Linked DNA regions of Homo sapiens: all the other regions are linked to region 2. The links are contacts of gene promoters, found by promoter capture Hi-C in blood cells and fetal thymus (Javierre and others, 2016). All regions are on one chromosome and are shown on one strand. The core of a region is centred on a gene start or on the middle of the fragment in contact, and the rest is flanking DNA. Distances in the headings are between cores, read along the strand shown. Region 1 holds the start of PRMT6 (protein arginine methyltransferase 6). Region 2 holds the start of VAV3-AS1 (VAV3 antisense RNA 1). Region 3 overlaps EEIG2 (EEIG family member 2). Region 4 overlaps HENMT1 (HEN methyltransferase 1). Region 5 has its middle 15 kb from the start of HENMT1.

What was found. The method cuts DNA at HindIII sites, captures the fragments that hold promoters and counts their contacts. A CHiCAGO score of 5 or more calls a contact.
Region 1: the fragment with the promoter of PRMT6 here is called in contact with the fragment with the promoter of VAV3-AS1 in region 2 in 1 of 17 cell types (fetal thymus); the score reaches 9.1 in fetal thymus.
Region 3: a fragment that was not itself captured here is called in contact with the fragment with the promoter of VAV3-AS1 in region 2 in 1 of 17 cell types (neutrophils); the score reaches 7.6 in neutrophils.
Region 4: a fragment that was not itself captured here is called in contact with the fragment with the promoter of VAV3-AS1 in region 2 in 2 of 17 cell types (M0 macrophages and activated CD4 T cells); the score reaches 6.7 in M0 macrophages.
Region 5: a fragment that was not itself captured here is called in contact with the fragment with the promoter of VAV3-AS1 in region 2 in 1 of 17 cell types (neutrophils); the score reaches 5.6 in neutrophils.

Annotation. Positions count from the first base shown.
Region 1 is chr1:107,055,241-107,057,940 of GRCh38, forward strand. PRMT6 (protein arginine methyltransferase 6) reads left to right here and starts at 1,434. Exons shown (of 1, transcript NM_018137.3): 1 at 1,434-2,700. The coding sequence starts at 1,476. The coding sequence ends at 2,603. RefSeq lists enhancers at 1,666-1,715, 1,736-1,875, 1,886-2,015, 2,026-2,235. The HindIII fragment of the contact is 2,330 bases long and covers 1-1,497 here.
Region 2 is chr1:107,963,188-107,965,887 of GRCh38, forward strand. It overlaps VAV3-AS1 (VAV3 antisense RNA 1), which reads left to right and starts at 1,256. Exons shown (of 3, transcript NR_046653.1): 1 at 1,256-1,317. VAV3 (vav guanine nucleotide exchange factor 3) reads right to left here and starts at 1,993. Exons shown (of 27, transcript NM_006113.5): 1 at 1,479-1,993. The coding sequence starts at 1,682. RefSeq lists enhancers at 1,004-1,133, 2,480-2,700. The HindIII fragment of the contact is 9,456 bases long and covers 1-1,273 here.
Region 3 is chr1:108,566,545-108,569,244 of GRCh38, forward strand. The region is part of intron 1 of EEIG2 (EEIG family member 2); the gene reads left to right. Among named protein-coding and RNA genes, the nearest start is that of EEIG2, 7.8 kb to the left of the region's middle. RefSeq lists a silencer at 2,281-2,496. The HindIII fragment of the contact is 3,399 bases long and covers 1-2,700 here.
Region 4 is chr1:108,654,811-108,657,510 of GRCh38, forward strand. It overlaps HENMT1 (HEN methyltransferase 1), which reads right to left. Exons shown (of 8, transcript NM_001102592.2): 3 at 2,641-2,700; 4 at 776-888; 5 at 1-40. Among named protein-coding and RNA genes, the nearest start is that of HENMT1, 4.9 kb to the right of the region's middle. The HindIII fragment of the contact is 267 bases long and covers 1,272-1,538 here.
Region 5 is chr1:108,674,646-108,677,345 of GRCh38, forward strand. No RefSeq gene overlaps it. Among named protein-coding and RNA genes, the nearest start is that of HENMT1, 15 kb to the left of the region's middle. The HindIII fragment of the contact is 9,896 bases long and covers 1-2,700 here.

The DNA.
Region 1 (2,700 bases), core at 184-2,683, 910 kb before region 2:
GCCTATTGGTTACAAGGACATAATTCAAGACCACAAGAAAATAAAAATCCATTTTACTCTGAGTGACTTTTTTTTCAAGCTGGCAGAAAATGGCATTATGCCCACCTTGTTAATAACACGGACACCCATACAGATGCCACACATATTTAAAAACATATTTTATTTCCATTATGGACAACAAAAAGAGAGTAACAGCTGATGGTTGACTACAAGAAAAATATAAGAGAAAGAGGAGAGTGTCAATATTGCCCGGACAAGAAAACACAGGAAAAAATGAATTGCATTGAGAAAGTGATTAAAAGAAATTGATTCCGTTATTTCTGAGAGAAAAAAACGCATATATATATAGAATACACCTAGCAACGAGTTTGCTTGTATCACATGGCTCTTGAGTCTGCACTTTTCAGGATTTAACTCTTAAGAGAGCCACAGAATTATCAGAGCAGAGCCGAAAGCCAAGTAACTATTCTTCTAAGTAGAACCAGAAACCTAGTTCTTCCCCAACTGCAATGAAGATTCGCTGGTGGGTGAATGGGCAACTAAAGGCCAGAGAAGTTCTATTATTTGCCCTAAATCACTCAACTAATTAGTGGTCATACTGGAATCAGAACCAAGATTTTGCATTGTTAGGTTTTAATTTTGTTACATTTGCACTCTAACTGCACTGAAAACAGAAAAAAGAAATGCGTAGTGCAGTTTCTAAATTGCCACAGCTGGAGCACTTTAAGAGCTACAATTGTCCAGTTAAGGCGGTAGTGGGTGGATGGTGCTGCCATGTTAATTCGGTGGAATAAAACCAGAGGTGAGTTAGGCCGGGCGCGGTGGCTCACGCTTGTAATCCCAGCACTTTGGGAGGCCGAGGTGGGCGGATCACCTGAGGTCGCGAGTTTGAGACCAGCCTGACCAACAGGGAGAAACCCCGTCTACCAAAAATACAAAATTAGCCGGCCCTGGTGGCATGCGCCCGTAATCCCAGCAACTCGGGAGGCTGAGGCAGGAGAATCGCTTGAACCCAGGAGGCGGAGGTTGCGGTGAGCGGAGATCGCGCCATTGCACTCCAGCCTGGGAAACAAGAGCGAAACTCCCTCTCAAAAAAAACAAAAAACAGAAAAACAAACAAAAAAAACAGAGGTGAGTTCAGCAGAAGAAACAAAGGTGGATTATTAGTCTTAAGTGTGCGTGCCTACTTCAGGAAGGGAGTGAAAGCAAAAAACTGAGGAGCTAAGGGTGGGAGGGGGAATGAAAGGATCTCAGAATGTGGGCGTCGTGGGTGGGAAAAGGGATGCCAGGACACCAGAAGAGCAATACAAAACAGCTCCCGTGAGCAGGCACAGGAGACCTTCCGCGCCGCCGGCCGGGCGACCCCGCAGGAAGTAGGAAGGACGAGCGCGCACTACAAGTCCCAGAAGCCCCCGTTTCCTGGAGCCCGCGCCGTGCCGCGCTACGCCCGCCGGGAGCCGGGCAGAGCGGCCAAGATGTCGCAGCCCAAGAAAAGAAAGCTTGAGTCGGGGGGCGGCGGCGAAGGAGGGGAGGGAACTGAAGAGGAAGATGGCGCGGAGCGGGAGGCGGCCCTGGAGCGACCCCGGAGGACTAAGCGGGAACGGGACCAGCTGTACTACGAGTGCTACTCGGACGTTTCGGTCCACGAGGAGATGATCGCGGACCGCGTCCGCACCGATGCCTACCGCCTGGGTATCCTTCGGAACTGGGCAGCACTGCGAGGCAAGACGGTACTGGACGTGGGCGCGGGCACCGGCATTCTGAGCATCTTCTGTGCCCAGGCCGGGGCCCGGCGCGTGTACGCGGTAGAGGCCAGCGCCATCTGGCAACAGGCCCGGGAGGTGGTGCGGTTCAACGGGCTGGAGGACCGGGTGCACGTCCTGCCGGGACCAGTGGAGACTGTAGAGTTGCCGGAACAGGTGGATGCCATCGTGAGCGAGTGGATGGGCTACGGACTCCTGCACGAGTCCATGCTGAGCTCCGTCCTCCACGCGCGAACCAAGTGGCTGAAGGAGGGCGGTCTTCTCCTGCCGGCCTCCGCCGAGCTCTTCATAGCCCCCATCAGCGACCAGATGCTGGAATGGCGCCTGGGCTTCTGGAGCCAGGTGAAGCAGCACTATGGTGTGGACATGAGCTGCCTGGAGGGCTTCGCCACGCGCTGTCTCATGGGCCACTCGGAGATCGTTGTGCAGGGATTGTCCGGCGAGGACGTGCTGGCCCGGCCGCAGCGCTTTGCTCAGCTAGAGCTCTCCCGCGCCGGCTTGGAGCAGGAGCTGGAGGCCGGAGTGGGCGGGCGCTTCCGCTGCAGCTGCTATGGCTCGGCGCCCATGCATGGCTTTGCCATCTGGTTCCAGGTGACCTTCCCTGGAGGGGAGTCGGAGAAACCCCTGGTGCTGTCCACCTCGCCTTTTCACCCGGCCACTCACTGGAAACAGGCGCTCCTCTACCTGAACGAGCCGGTGCAAGTGGAGCAAGACACGGACGTTTCAGGAGAGATCACGCTGCTGCCCTCCCGGGACAACCCCCGTCGCCTGCGCGTGCTGCTGCGCTACAAAGTGGGAGACCAGGAGGAGAAGACCAAAGACTTTGCCATGGAGGACTGAGCGTTGCCTTTTCTCCCAGCTACCTCCCAAAGCAGCCTGACCTGCGTGGGAGAGGCGTAGCGAGGTCGGAGGGGAAAGGGAGATCCCACGTGCAAGT
Region 2 (2,700 bases), core at 6-2,505:
CAGTACTGTACTCCCTACTGGTGGGCCAAGGCATCCTGACCCACGCTGCCTCCTGAGGCTACAGGCAAAGTGGAAAATGGGGATGTGTGAGAGTAGCTAACTGCAGCTCCCACCATAATAGAAAAGTCTGCCAAACCCCTCAAAGGAATTTCCAGAGTTGAGACAACTCTGAAGGGGTACCGAGAGGTAGCAATCACCATGCATGTTTATGGGGGTATAAAATAATTTACCTCACTTTTAAATACGTATGGCTCTCCCCACTTCCATGCCTGTTCTTTCTTAGGGACTGCCCACCAGCAGGTTGAAGGCAAACAGGCAAGGAATGCAGAATCTGAAGTGCAGGGGACCCTGATGAAACACTGACACCAAGAATCACAGATGACTGTGTGTGCTCTAACTTTAAATACATACTTATTAAATCATATAAAGTCCGTTCCTTCTTAAAAGGCGCTGCTCTGGTTGCTAAGTAGCTGAGGCTCTGCGTCATAGAGGATTAGTGCTGAAATGTGTCAGGGAGAGGGCTCTGTCCTCTCCCTTTTAAGTTGAAAGCAGTTTGGTTTTTTGTTTTGTTTTAACATTCTGAAAGAGAAAGAGGCTCTGAACCGAGTTTAACATCCTTCTGTACAAAAATTTTCCGACAGGACAAATAAACTACTCTTCCACTGAACTGTGACTTTTGAGCTGACTCTAGGGTGCACCCAACCTTCCAGAGGTGTCTGGCTTAACCCTCAAAGAGGCAGCTCCAGCCCCAGGAGCCGACCGGCACCACAGCACCTGAGCAGGGCACTGCAGGAAGGAAAGCGGAATCTCTAGTGAAACTTCTCATTTCCTGTCGCTGCTGAGAGAGGCTGGACTCGCTCCTTCTCACATGGCTTAGGAAGAGCTGTAAACGGGAGCTTGCCGGCTGGCCACCAGCTCAGGGGCCCTGGGGGCGGCCTCCGGGTTCTGCTCCCTGTTCTTCCCTTTGACCAATGTCACTCCTGGACAGATAACGGGACCAAACGCCCTTCACTTCCTCGAGTCCTCATGTATGTCATGGTTCCTCTTTTAGGAAAACATGAGTACAAGACGCAAAGCAAAAGAAGAGACTAAAGGCAAATTACCCCATCACCTCGTTTCGTCCCTCCCCTTCGTTATTATAGAAGAGCTTGATCAAATTCCCTTTGTCGCGCCACACACACGCAGAGTAGGTGAAGGGCACCCTAAGACAACTTATTTCTTTCCCGCCTCACAGAAAGCCTTTACGAAATCCTCACACCATCTCCGGACGCAAAGCTTTCGCATTCAGCTTGAGGAGCTAAACCATTTCAAGCCAAGGTAGGAAACGCCAAAGTGGTGCCGAAGTGGTCCCAAAGCAGAAGGCTGGGAAGCAGGGCAAGCTCAGCGCACCTAGACGTTTGCATTTACACAAAGAAATTAGCCGCATGATTAATGGGAGCTGCCGGCTGGAGGCGGGGCGCCCGTGCCGGCCTCCTCACCTGGGACATCTGCGGCCTCAGGTTGATCTCCTTCAGGTTGATGGAGTGCGCCCGGAGGTTGTTAAGCAGCTGGCAGAGCAGGACTCCATCGCGGAGGGTCTGCGCAAGGTCGAACACCTGAGCCGAGTCCCAGGTCACCCGGTGGTTGGTGGGCAGCACCTTGCAATGGATGAGCCACTGCGCGCACTGCTTCCACGGCTCCATGCCCGACGGCTCCGGGACGCGGCTGGGCCGGGGCGGGCGGCAAGGATGCGGCCGCCGCCGCCGCCGCCGCGGTTCCTCCGCGCCCCGCCGACGCCAACAGCCGCCGGCCCTTTCCCCGCGCGGGATCGAGGGAGCAGGAGCCGCGGCTGACGGGTCGCGGGCGCCGCGCTAGGCTCGGCTCCGGTCCCGGCCCGGGTGCGCCGCGACCCGGCCGCCGCTGCAGCGAGTCCCGCGCGCTCTCCGTGCGCCCCGGCCGGCTCGGCGGCGGCTGCCGCGCACAGGCTTCCGACTCCAGCGCCCGGCCCGCCACTGAGCATGCCCAGCACGCCGGCCGGTCTCGCTGCGGTCCGCAAGTCCCCAGACGCGCGGGTGGGAGCGCGCCGGCGGCCGGGGCTGGGGTCTGTGGCCGAGGGCGGGGCGCGGGGGAGGGGCCGGCGGAGGGGGGCGGCGGCCAGAAAGGGGATCCCGCGCCCCCGCCTGCAGCCTTGCGGGGCTCACGCAGCCCCCGGCGTCCTGGGGTCTTCTCTCGGGGCGGCTTCCCGGCTTTGCGGGGAGTGTGGCTGAATACTGTAATACGATGGGGTCCCCCAGGACCCCCTAAACAACAAATGCTCAAAGGAGCGACGGATTAATTGGGGCACCCAGACTCCCCAGAGCAATGAAAAAAGTGCCTAGAGCATCAGTAGAGCACGGCGCTGAAAGTTTTAGAGATCGTCGCCCCCTCGCCCCTTGCAGCTCTATCCCCTCCATTCTCTATAGCTGATTCCTCAGCCTATTCCTCCTAGTTGCCCCTAGTGGTGTTTTGGCACCCTCAAAGTGAGTGAGAGTGCGTGTGTGGAGACGCCTGCGGAAACCGCCCCGATCCCTGAGCCTATTTCCTCGCGAGGTGATTTTCACTTGGAGCTGGTTTGCCCCTGCACTGTCAGGCTCGGAACTGTTTGCCGTTGCTGTTCTGGCCCTTTTGCTGACCCCACAAAAACCTGCTTGAGAAAGGCCTGTGCCACGGTGCTAGACTGCG
Region 3 (2,700 bases), core at 179-2,678, 600 kb after region 2:
TTGAAATCAGTATGTTGAAGAGAATTCTGTACTCTTATTGTCTTTGCAGCATTATTTACAATAGCCAAGTTATTGAAACAACCTAAGTGTCTGTAAACAGATGAATGGATAAAGAAGATGTGGTATATACAATGGAAATTATTCGGCCTTTTAAAAAAAAAAAAGGAAATCCTGTCATTTGTGACAACATGGATGAACCTGGAGGACTTTTGTTTAAAATGAAATAAGCCAGGCACAGAAAGGCAAATACTGCATCATCTCACATATATGTGGGATATAAAAAAGGTGAACTCATAGTGGGTGAGGGCACGGAGAGATGGGGAACTGTTGGTCATAGGGCACAAAGTTTCAATTAGGTGGCATGGATATGTTCAGATCTGTTGTACAGAATGCTGACTATAGTTAATAATAATGTATTATACTTGAAAATTGCTAAGAGAATAGATCATAAGTGTTCTCCAACAGCAAAAAAAATAAATATGTGAGTTGATGGCTATGTTAATTGGCTTGGTTTAGCAATTTCACAATATATACACATATCAAAACATTACATAGTACACAGTAAGTATATACAATTTTTGTCAACTATATTTTAATATAGTTAAGTAATTAAAATAAAAAATTTTTTAATTAAAAAATTCCTTATACCCTGACCAGAAATGGAGTCATCAATTCACATTATTATAATACCTGTAATAATAGTAGCTGACATTTATTTGAGCACTTTCCCAGTGCGTCAGGAACTTTTCTAAGCCTTTACATTTAATCTTCAAGATATTCCCGTGAGGAAGGTGCTATTATTACGTCATTACCATTATTAGTGCCCTTGCCATTATTGCTGCTATTACTCTCATTTTATACCTGGGGAAACAGAAGCACAAAGAGATGCTAAAAGTTACTCAGCTAGTAAGTGGTAGAGCTAGGAGGCATTCTAGCTCCAAGGACCACTGTTAATCACTAAATTCTACTGCCTTTCAGGCTTTGTGTTGTATGCTTTCTCATTTTTATGTTTTATAAAAATGGTAGGTAAATATATGTAGTATAACTTTTTCTGAATGTCAGTTTCAGAAAACTGGTTCCAATATGTGACATCACTAAACAGGTTACAAGACCTGGCCCCTTTAGATTTTCCCTGAGGCAATTGTATATGAAAGATAAGTAAAATGCAGCGAGGCATTTTTATGGGCTCATGCCTGTAATCCCAGCACTTTGGAAGACTGAAGCAGGAGGGTGGCTTGAGCCCAGAAATTCAAGAACAGCCTGGGCAACATAGTGAGACCCTGTCTTTGAAGAAAATTTAAAAATTAGCTGGGTTTCGTGGCATGCACCTGTGTTCCCAGCTACTCAGGGAGACTGAGGTGGGAGAATCTCTTGAGCTTGGGAGATTGAAGCTGCAATGAGCCATGATTACACCACTGCACTCCAGCATGGGTGATGGAGCAGGACTCTGTCTCAAAAAAAAAGAAAAGAAAACAAAAGAAAAGAAAAATGGTACTCATGCCACTTTTTTTTTCAAGATGTGGCTTTGTACAACTAAGTTCACAAAATTTAGTCACATTATTGGATAGTCATATCTTATAAAAATAGTATTAATGCCATTTTACACCAGTAAGTTAATATTCACCACTGTATCACTGAGCCTTACATAGCCAGCATTTTGTAAATATTGAAAGAAAGCAAATATTGGGAGAAAAGATCTGTTGTAGTTTTGCTAAAGATGACACACATACAGAGATCACTAAATTAAATATATGGGGAAGTAGATCATGTTTTATCTACACAGCTTGTAAAAAATTATGTTCGGTTTGGGGTGCAGGCCTTTGAGGGTTATCAAATGGAGGTCCAAGGAAGATATTCGGATTCTTAAGAATCTTGAATTATGCTAATAACAGGAGACTGGGGTTAGTCTTGAGAGAAGATAATGGTCTTCAAATACTAAAAAATTGACTTGTATATATGTATATTTTACATTCCTAATTTTATTTGATTCTTACAAAACCCCTTTAATAGAAGTAGGAAACCATTGTCACCTGTTTTTGATTTAGAATGGATGTCAGGTGCTATAACAAGGTATTTTTAAAAAATAACTGGCTTAACCAAGATAGAAGTTTACTTCTCTTTCATATGAAGTCCAACCTAGTGTGGTAGCTGTGCTCTGTCCAGTTGTCAGGGGCCTGGACTCTTTTTGTCTTATTGCTCTCAGGGTATTGTTCTCATCCACAGGGACTGACTTGGCTCACCCCACATCCGAATTCCAGCCACTGGGAAGGAGGAGAGGGGAAGGGAAGGTCCCTTGTGCTCACAGTCCATTGACCAGAACATCAGCACCATGCCACATCCAGCCCCAAGGTTGAGAAATTTAGTTTTTGCTGGGTGCCTGTATGCCTAACGAAACACTGAATTAGAATAAAGGGAGGAGAGGACAGATATCAGGATAATTAGCCTCTGTCATACCACTCTTTTAGACATGAGAAAGTTGATCCTTAGAAAATAATTTGTTCAAAGTCACATATCAACTAATGAAAGATATTTGAAAAATTGTGCCATAAAGAAGGAATAGACTATGCTGGGTGCAGCTGAGGACAGAACTAGGACCAGTGGGGAGATGTTAAAGAAGGCATGTTTCTATTCAGTATAACATTAAAACAAATAAGTTCTAACATTTAGGAGAGTAAAATAGTGAGTAGACTACCTCAGTAC
Region 4 (2,700 bases), core at 155-2,654, 690 kb after region 2:
AGGTTTCAGAAAATCCCCCAGGAAAGGAGCTAACGAATCCCTGCAAAATAATTATTGAAGAAACTTTCTGAACATTATCTATTTAAAAATTCTCACCAGCTACAGAACTCAGATCCTCTGATAATTATCTTCTACCTCTATTGATATAAGTCTGACACAGCCTGTTTTCCTTGTCTTGACATATTAAAGACCAGGTCATGGGGAAACTTCCTCTCACAGTGGGAAGTTACTGGCCAATGAAAAAAAGACTGAATATTTAATATTGTTATATTGTTTTCATTTGTAATACTTTTGGTTTTCCAGCTTACTTTGATTCAGTGATTTTGAGATTTTTGTTCTTTAGAAAAAGAATATTCTTGAAGCAATCTGTGGAAATCTAATGTATATATACTATATATACAAGAGATAGGAGAAATGCTATGGTTCAAAATGCAGGCGGTGGCCTGGAGCCTTGGCCTCAGTGTTCTGGGGCATTTTAAATCCTCTGCTATAAATTATCATAGTGTCCAGCATTAAAGTGATGAGATTTTGCTATCTGAATTTTAATTTACAATGCTTTGATTATTATAATCATTTAATTGAGGCTATTCTTTAAGTTGGTAGCAATAAAATGCAGGTATTTTTAGTGTTATGGCAAAGCCTGATTATTCAGTGAGTTGAAGATCCCTAATGGCCCCAATCTTTTAAAACAAATATAAAATCAACACTTTCTCTAAACTCAATAATGCCATTAGTTTTAGATTAACGCATAATTCTTTCAGAAACTAAGTATTACCCTCTCCATCGTAATTTATCCTCATTAATATCTACTCCAACAAGCAATTCAATGCATGGATTGACTTTTAGCAGCCTTAAGAGTGAAGTATCACCACATCCCAGGTCTGCAACCTGTAGATGAGACAGAATGTTATTTCAAAGACATTTATAGCAAGAGAAGTATGATCAAAAACTTTTTTTTGAGGAGGAGAGAGTGGAGTATATATCAGTAATAAAATAATGAAAGTATTATATGGAAGGATCTTTTTGGCAGAAGATGCTACACACACACACACACACACACACACACACACACACACACACACTAACCTGAAACTTTATAAGCCCATAGGCAAATTTCTATTTGATCACACTAAAATAGAAAGGTCCATTCCTATTCCAGAACAACTGTTATTGTCTATATTGAACTAATGAGAAACAATTACGTACACACAGTTTTCCCATTCAGAATCAGAATTTGGAGTCAAATATTCTCAGCATATTTCAGCAAACAAAGCTTTCTAAAACTTAGCTTTCACCCCTCACACATTTATTTGATTAAACAATTACCTCAAACCATCTGAAATTCCATACTGAACTCTGAGCTGCCAAAAAGCCAATTTTAGATGCTTTACCTGAATACACATGCCTAGATGGCTACAAAGATATAAACTAATACCTACGCCTTTGTGTCCAAGTGTAGAAACAGTAGTGGTGGAGTTAAGGGAAACCTTCACACACAGGAATCTTCACTGAGTCTTCAACATCAAGCAGAAAAAGAAAGCTTTCATCTAGAAATTCACCTTACCCGCATCTAATTCACATCCAATCCATTAGTATAGTAACCAGGTATGGATGGATGGATGTAGATTATATGCAATTATGACTTTACTCTGAAGTTAACCGAGTAGGTTCATTATGATCTAATTTTCTTTTTGAGACGGGCTCTTTCTCTGTTGCCCAGGCTGGAATGCAGGTGATAACAGCTCACTGCAGCCTCAACCTCCTGGGCTCAAGGGATCCTCCCACCTCAGCCTCCTGAGTAACTGGGACTATAGGCACGCACCACCATGCACAGCTAATTTTATTTTTTGTAGACACAGGGTCTCACTATGGTGCCAGGCTGGTCTCAAGCTAGCCACCTGCCTCAGCCTCCCAAAGTGCCGGAATTACAGGTGTAAACCATTGCACCCGGCCCATTATCATCTAATTTTAAAAGAACCACAATACCTGTGGCTACAATACCAGTTTGCCTGATATTCTAACTAAATGCTCTAGAAGTACGGTACCTACAAGATCACATCCAACTATAAAATCTTAAGATTTTCTTCACATTTGAACCTGACAATGCTGAATTCTGTCTGAGCCCTGTGTTTCTGGCATCTGCTAAAGGAATCCACCTGTGCTTTGTGTTCCAGGAAAGGGCTCACTGCAAAAAACCACCCTCCTCCATAAAACTTAGATAAGATTCCTTGTGTTTCCATTCTTTGCCTCAAATGATTATCATGAATACTTGTCCCCACTGATCAATGGGAAGAAAATTCCTTTTTTAACCATACTTTATTCAAACTTTACTTCTTCCCCCAGGGCCCTGCACTACAGCCTGAGGAAACAGCCCCCTCCTTAAGGCTCCCCATTCCACTGTCCTTTCAAACCACCCTCTCATCCCACCTCCCTAGTTTCTAGCTTTGTTCACTTCTCCAGTAAAAGAAAAACCCCTTTTGCTTAACTCTTGAGACACCTGCAGATCTTGTGGTTACGGCATTCTCCCTATTGCAATAACCCCTGTGAAAAGTCTCTCCATACTAATCCATTTGACAAAACACCTCATATGACTAGTCTACTAGTCTTAATAATTAAATGTTTGGAAAGAGAAATACCTACCTTCTTAGGCTCATGTTGATCCACTAAATTTTTAACGAACTGGTACCGCTGTCTGTATAG
Region 5 (2,700 bases), core at 118-2,617, 710 kb after region 2:
CCAAACTCACAATTAATAGAAGGAAAGAAATAGCAAAGATCAGAGCAGAAATAAGTGAATCTGAAATGAAGAAAACAATACAAAAGATAAACTAAACCAAAAGTTGGGTTTTTTTTAAAAAGATAAACAAAATTGGCAAACCTTTAGCCAGACTAACAGAAAAAAAGGGAGAAGACCCAAATAAAATCAGAGACAAAAAAGGAGACATTACCACTGATACCACAGAAATTCAAAGGATCATTAGTGGCTACTATTAGCAACTATATGCCAATAAACTAGAGAATCTAGAGGTATGGATAATTCCTAGACATGACTCACCAAGATTGAATCATGAAGAAATCCAAATCCTGAATAGATCAATAACAAGTAATGAGATCGAAGATGTAATAAAAAGTTTCCCGCTCTCCCTCTACCTCTCCCTCTCCCTCTCCGTCTCCCTCTCCCCACGGTCTCCCTCTCTTTCCAAGGTCTCCCTCTCATGCGGAGCCGAAGCTGGACTGTACTGCTGCCATCTCGGCTCACTGCAACCTCCCTGCCTGATTCTCCTGCCTCAGCCTGCCGAGTGCCTGCGATTGCAGGCACGTGCCGCCACGCCTGACTGGTTTTGGTGGAGACGGGGTTTCGCTGTGTTGGCCGGGCCGGTCTCCAGCCCCTAACCGCGAGTGATCCGCCAGCCTCGGCCTCCCGAGGTGCCGGGATTGCAGACGGAGTCTCGTTCACTCAGTGCTCAATGGTGCCCAGGCTGGAGTGCAGTGGCGTGATCTCGGCTGGCTACAACCTCCACCTCCCAGCCGCCTGCCTTGGCATCCCAAACTGCCGAGATTGCAGCCTCTGCCCGGCCACCATCCCGTCTGGGAGATGAGGAGTGTCTCTGCCTGGCCGCCCATCGTCTGGGATGTGAGGAGCCCCTCTGCCTGGCTGCCTAGTCTGGAAAGTGAGGAGCGTCTCCGCCCGGCCGCCATCACATCTAGGAAGTGAGGAGCGTCTCTGCCCGGCCGCCCATCCTCTGAGATGTGGGGAGCGCCTCTGCCCCGCCACCCCATCTGGGATGTGAGGAGCGCCTCTGCCCGGCCGCCCCGTCTGAGAAGTGAGGAGACCCTCTGCCTGGCAACCACCCCGTCTGAGAAGTGAGGAGCCCCTCCGCCCGGCAGCTGCCCCGTCTGAGAAGTGAGGAGCCTCTCTGCCCGGCAGCCACCCCATCTGGGAAGTGAGGAGCGTCTCCGCCCGGCAGCCACCCTGTCCGGGAGGGAGGTGGGGGGGGGTCAGCCCCCCGCCCGGCCAGCCGCCCCATCCGGGAGGGAGGTGAGGGGGTCAGCCCCCCGCCCGGCCAGCCGCCCCGTCCGGGAGGTGAGGGGCGCCTCTGCCCGGCCGCCCCTACTGGGAAGTGAGGAGCCCCTCTGCCCGGCCAGCCGCCCCGTCCGGGAGGGAGGTGGGGGGTCAGCCCCCCGCCCGGCCAGCCGCCCCGTCCGGGAGGTGAGGGGCGCCTCTGCCCGGCCGCCCCTACTGGGAAGTGAAGAGCCCCTCTGCCCGGCCACCACCCCGTCTGGGAGGTGTGCCCAACAGCTCATTGAGAATGGGCCATGATGACAATGGCGGTTTTGTGGAATAGAAAGGGGGGAAAGGTGGGGAAAAGATTGAGAAATCGGATGGTTGCCGTGTCTGTGTAGAAAGAAGTAGACATGGGAGACTTTTCATTTTGTGCTGCACTAAGAAAAATTCTTCTGCCTTGGGATCCTGTAGATCTGTGACCTTACCCCCAACCCTGTGCTCTCTGAAACATGTGCTGTGTCCACTCAGGGTTAAATGGATTAAGGGCGGTGCAAGATGTGCTTTGTTAAACAGATGCTTGAAGGCAGCATGCTCGTTAAGAGTCATCACCACTCCCTAATCTCAAGTAATCAGGGACACAAACACTGCGGAAGGCCGCAGGGTCCTCTACCTAGGAAAACCAGAGACCTTTGTTCACTTGTTTATCTGCTGACCTTCCCTCCACTATTGTCCCATGACCCTGCCAAATCCCCCTCTGTGAGAAACACCCAAGAATTATCAATAAAAATAAAATAAAATAAAATAAAAAAAGGGACAGAAATTGTGCATTCGGGGAGCTCGGATTTTAAGGCAGTAGCTTGCCGATGCTCCCAGCTGAATAAAGCCCTTCCTTCTACAAAAAAAGAAAAAAAATTCCCAATAAAGAAAAGCCCAGGACCTGCTGGCTTCACTGCTGAATTCCACCAAATATTTAAAGAACTAATACTATGTACATTTTAAAATAATTAAGAGTATAAATGGATGGCTGGGCATGGTGGCGCATGCCTGTAATCCTAGCACATTGAGAGGCCAAGGCGGGCAGATCACTTGAGGTCAGGAGTTTGAGATCAGCCTGGCCAATATGGCAAAGCCCCATCTCTACTAAAAATACAAAAATTAGCCGGATGTGGTGGCACACACCTGTAATTCCTGCTACTCGGGAGGCTGAGGCACAAGAATCACTTGAGCCCAGGAGGCAGAGGTTGCAATAAGCTGAGATCATGTCACTGCACTCCAGCCTGGGTGACAGAGTCAGACTCTGTCTCAATGAATAAATAAATAAATAAATAAATAAATAAATAAATAGTTTGTAACATAAAGGATAAATGCTTGAAGGGATGGATACCCCATTTTCCATAATGTGATTATTATGCATTACATGCCTGTGTCAAA